2 separate regions of the Homo sapiens genome follow, and region 1 is linked to region 2. The links are contacts of gene promoters, found by promoter capture Hi-C in blood cells and fetal thymus (Javierre and others, 2016). All regions are on one chromosome and are shown on one strand. Each heading gives the region's core, a stretch centred on a gene start or on the middle of the fragment in contact. The rest is flanking DNA. Distances are from core to core; before and after follow the strand shown.

What was found. The method cuts DNA at HindIII sites, captures the fragments that hold promoters and counts their contacts. A CHiCAGO score of 5 or more calls a contact.
Region 1: a contact is called between a fragment that was not itself captured here and the fragment with the promoter of TERF1 in region 2, in 1 of 17 cell types (naive B cells). The highest score is 6.1, in naive B cells.

What each region holds. Positions count from the first base shown.
Region 1 is chr8:73,180,516-73,183,215 of GRCh38, forward strand. All of the region lies in intron 2 of LOC107986891 (a long non-coding RNA gene), which reads right to left. Among named protein-coding and RNA genes, the nearest start is that of C8orf89, 78 kb to the right of the region's middle. The HindIII fragment of the contact is 1,404 bases long and covers 560-1,963 here.
Region 2 is chr8:73,007,559-73,010,262 of GRCh38, forward strand. TERF1 (telomeric repeat binding factor 1) reads left to right here and starts at 1,306. Exons shown (of 10, transcript NM_017489.3): 1 at 1,306-1,647. The coding sequence starts at 1,329. RefSeq lists silencers at 1,072-1,171, 1,202-1,251. The HindIII fragment of the contact is 9,695 bases long and covers 1-2,704 here.

The DNA.
Region 1 (2,700 bases), core at 12-2,511, 170 kb after region 2:
CAAGCTTCTTGAAAAGACAGCGTCTCTTTCCTACCATCCTGGAAACGTGACTGATTCCCACAGGAGGATTTTTATTGGCCACAGCTGGGTCGAGCTCCAGGGAAATGGGATTCTCTGATTTGCTGACCCAGGCCATGAATCCATGCCTTTATGACCAGGCATGGGAGTCCACTTCCAAAAGAAGGGAAACAGGAGAAAACTTGCTAGAAAACCAAAAACAATAACTATACAACCCACTCAAATTGATTTTAAAAATTTTTAATTAAATGCCTTTATTTAATGTTACTTTACTCAATGAAAGCAAGCATTTACACACTCAAATGGTAGGTATTTGGTTAAGCAGCTCTTGAGGTCCCTCTAAAGAACCCTGAATCTATCAAGCAAGAAAATGTTCCCACTTTTCTGGCAAGGGTTTATAGGGTTTCTGAGTATTTACAGAAAACAAAACCTTTCTTCCCTCCCCTTTCTCTACAGTCTATGTTCCAAACCACAAAGAGAAAGGAATCATTCATCCCTGTGCATGGGTTAATTAAGCAGAAAACTTTTTCCAAGGGTAGGAAGCTTGGTATTAGATAGAAAGAAAAAAAGAATGAGAAATGCTTTTGGAGTTTCTGGAGAAGAGAAGGAGAAATCATATGGTGGTGGGAGGTGAAAAGATGTCAATGGCAACGCCATCTATTTCTAAATTTTCCCTGAACAGGAGACCAAATGCTTAGGGGTTCTCTGAGTCTATCTGTTGGGACAAGCTGAGAGAGACCAGTTAACTTCAACAATACTCACTTTTGCAGAGTGGAATCCAGGGCAAGTAGGCAAAGATGCACCTATAGCCAGTACTTAGAAGGTGACAAGGAAGGTGATCCTTGAAAGCAGAAATCCGATTGCCCTGCAGGAGCAGATGGTGGTTGGAAGATAAACCCGCAATGTCTGTGATTAGCCAGCTGAGAAAGCTCAGAAAATGTCTGCCTAAAGATGGGCTCAGATATGGCTTAGGAATATCTAAGGGGATTTGTCCACCCAGAGAGAAAGAGGAACTTAAATTACTTGTATTGCAACCCATCTGAAGATAGAATATGACCACAGTGTAAGGGAAGAAAAATAATTTTTTCTCTACCTTTCTGAGTTTGTAGCTCGGATGGACCCCTGTAGCAAAAGACAGATTAACAAGAGAAAAACAAACAAATTTATTAGCATGTATATTTCATATATACATAGGAGATCCCAGGAAATGAGAAATTCTCAAAGTATCTTAGAACTCTGGTTTTATATGGCATTTTTAACAAAGAAGAGCAAATTGTTAGAGAAGTAACCAAAGGAAAAGTACTGTGAGTCTCTAGGGTTAGCAAATTGAGGGAAGGCGAGGAAATGGGAATTTGTCATGTGGATTCTTCGGTGCCATCTCCAGGATGAGAAGGATCTAAAGTTGCCTTCAGTGAACAACCTTTGTTCTTTCTGGTAGAGAGGTAACGATGGACATCATAGTCTTGGTAAATTTATGTCTTGCTTTTAGGCTAATGGGGTAGAGCAGAGACCTTTTCTTATATCTGCTTCTTCTCGATTGCCTTCAGCTCAAAATAACTTTTATGCCAAAGTGGCGTATCTTAGGGTGACATGTTCTGGTCTTCTGCAACAGACAGAGGCTACAGATGCCTGCCTGGCATCCTGAAGAGGGAGAAAGAGAGTGAGAGTCGGTCAGGCTGTTTCCAGCCAAATAGATGCTGGAGAGGGAGCCAGCCATGCAGTTACACTCCAGGATGCACGGCTGAGTTCGTGTCCCGGCATATTTTCTCCTTGTCACTGAAGCCCCAGCTGCCTAGAGTATTTTATCATATGTAAGTCGTGCCATTATTTTATGTACCACAAAGAAGAAACATTTATGCCAATTACACTGCATCATAATGCTTTCCTTTCACTTTGACTTTTAATCATTTTACACTTATTTTGACATAGATTTTATTCTACATCAAGCTTGTACATAAATGAAAAGAAAAATATAACTGAAATAAAATGGCTGCAATAATTCCTAAAACTTCTTCAAATTCAATGTCTGATTCTTCTGAATCATTTTTAGACTGTCTTTGGTGTCTGTATTTTTCCTGCACAATATCATCCTGTGTACCTTCAACAATGTTTGTAATACAGCACCTTTAAAAAAGAATTTAAAATATATGCTATATATATATATTTTAAATTAACTTATTTACTCTCATTCCTTTGATTTCTAAAGGGAAGATAACCTCAGTAGCTTGTTTCCCTAGCCTTTCCTTTTATTTGCCCCTTTGGATATGAAAAACCTGTTCTGAATTATATATTATATATAATATATATGTTATATATAAAATATATATATTCCAATAGAAATTTGAAATTTGATCTGTTTATTAGATATTAGGATATTGATATTAAATTTCTTGGGTGTGATAATACTATACCCTAGAAGAATGTTCTTATTCTTAAAAGATACGTGCTGAAGTGTTTAGCAGTGAGGTGTCATGCTATTTGCATATTACTTTCATATGATTCAGCAAACAAACATACAAACAAAATGCCCAAAGAAACATAAAGAGTGATGAGTAAAGGAAATGCCTTCAAAATGATATCAACAGGAAAATCTAGATAAAGGATATACAGGTATTCATGGAACTATTTTTTAAATTGTTCTTTAAGCTTAAGGTTTTCCAAAATTAAATGTTATTTCGGAGT
Region 2 (2,704 bases), core at 56-2,555:
TACATTTACCAAGCCCTTTAATCGTGCAGGTATTATTATTATTCACATTATACGGACAAGAAAACTGACACGTAATTTACCCAAGGTCACACAGCTAGTGAGTAACTGGTAGGGAATATTCCAACCTAAGCATTCTTAATACTAGAATACAGTGCCTTAGTTACTCAACACTTAAACTGTACCACCTTAAAGACAATAACAAGAAGTGTGTGAAAATGTGGAAAGGCTTTGATGATGCTGGATGCGTTATAAACAGAAAGGCTTTTAAAATAAACTTTTTATTCAATTATGACACACATACTGAAAAGTGCATAAACGATGTTCAGTGAATTTTCATAAAGTGAACCCACATCAAGGAACAGAAAACGGAGCCAGGCGTTGTGGCTCAGGCCTGTAAACCCAGCACTTTGGCAGGAGGATAACTTGAAGCCAGGAGTTGGAGACCAGCCTGAGCAACAGAGCGAAATCCTGTCTCAAAGGAAAAAAAAAAAACAAACAAAAAACAAAAACAATAACCAGACCACCCATCCCCATTTAGAATTTCTTTTTGTGCTAAGTTTCAAAATTCAAAATAAGCATTCACTTGTTTTCTACAAACTGCATTCTATAGTCGATCTCAAACCTTGATTGAGATACATTTCCATTATAGTATACTCTTTCTAGAGCACTGATCTCAAAATGTGGTGCCCAGCCAAGTAGCGTTGGACTTTCAAATTCAAGGATCCCAAGCTAGACCAGCAGAACAGGAATTCTGGGAGTGGAGCCCGGCAATTTGTGTTTTAGCAAGCCCCCAGGCTGATTCTGATGCATCTTAAGGTTGGAGAAGCATGGATATTGTCAGTTGTAATAGTTGTTGTTCGTGATCACGTAGTAACTGTTAGATGAAAACTAGGGTTTAAAAGTGTTACGCTTGTCTAATAGTGACAAGTTCTCATTACCCATCTCTTTCTGAAATAGGCTGCAGGCAAATGCGTTTTCATTTTAAATAACCGTGTTGTTGTTCCAGTCAAGGTTGCATTTTACAAGGAATAAGGAAGATAAAGCTGCCTCCTCCTATCCTAATCTCGCTCCTCGCTCAGTATGGAGTCGTCCGGTTTACCTACAAAGCCCTGCCCTAGACTGGCGGCAAATTCAACGCCCAGAGGCAGGAACAGGTGTCGGCCAATCAGAAGCCGGAACAGGTGTCGGCCAATCAGAAGCCAGGCTTGAACCGCTCGCCCATGTCCCGCCGGCGGAAGAGACTCTCCGCGGCCACGCCCCGAGCCCTCGAATGCGAGCCAATCGTTGCTCGGCGCCTGAAGGGGCAGTACCCAAGCGAGCCATTTAACATGGCGGAGGATGTTTCCTCAGCGGCCCCGAGCCCGCGGGGCTGTGCGGATGGTAGGGATGCCGACCCTACTGAGGAGCAGATGGCAGAAACAGAGAGAAACGACGAGGAGCAGTTCGAATGCCAGGAACTGCTCGAGTGCCAGGTGCAGGTGGGGGCCCCCGAGGAGGAGGAGGAGGAGGAGGAGGACGCGGGCCTGGTGGCCGAGGCCGAGGCCGTGGCTGCCGGCTGGATGCTCGATTTCCTCTGCCTCTCTCTTTGCCGAGCTTTCCGCGACGGCCGCTCCGAGGACTTCCGCAGGACCCGCAACAGCGCAGAGGGTGAGTGCAGACCGCGTCCGGGCCGGGACTACGCGGGGGGCGGATGCGGGCTCCGTGGTGCGCGGCAGAGGGCTGGTTCCCTACGTCGCCGAGGGAGGGGCTGCTGCGGCCGATTAGCTGGGAGTCCGAGGCTCCGGGCTGAACTTTGTTCGAATCCCGGTTCGCCCGTTGTCAGCACCTGAGTTTTTCTCAGATTGATTTCCTCTTCGATAAAATGAAAATAAGACCCTGTTTAGGTTTGATGCAAGCATTAAATGAGTTAAAATGTATACAGTTCCACTCAACCCAGTACCTTTGTCTCTTTTGGCGCTTTCTACTCAGGTATTCCTGTAGTAATATTCAGCAGTCCCTGTGGCCTCCAGTAACCCCCGAGGCATCAGTGTTTTATGTTAATTTGTGAGCTATTAAATCTCATTTGGCCTGCTGGCTCTACAGCAGTTACTTTTATTCTGTGTAGTCTCAGAATAAAAGTAAATGTTGGCCACATGCCTGCAAGTCCCAGCTACTTGGGAGCCTGAGGTGGGAGGATCGCTTGAACCCAAGAGGCAGAGGTTGCAGTGAGTCGAGATCGTGCCACTACAGTCCTGCCTGGGTAACAGAGTGATACCCTGTATGAATAAATAAATGAATGAATGAAACTGTTCATGAAATCTGCTGCACCCCGCCCCCGTCCCAAGATGGGGTCTCACTGTCACCCAGGCTGGAGAGTGTAGTGGCGCCATCACAGCTCACTGCAGGCTCGACCTCCTCAGGCTCAGGTATCCTCCCGCTTCAGCTTCTGGAGTAGCTGGGTCTGCAGGCGTGCACCACCACCCGCAGCTGTAAGATTACAGGTATGAGCCACCGCGCCTGGCCTAGTGTAGCTTTTTGAAAAACAACAGAAAGATGTTCTGGTACTTCATTCATAGTTGGCGCTAAAATTACTGTGCAAGTATATATTTATAATACTATAATTATGCTATTTAATAGAATTCTTAGACATTTTGACACATTTCATCTTCACCATAATCCTGTGAGTTAGGCAAATAATCTTAGTTTTAAGGTACTGATAGGTTAA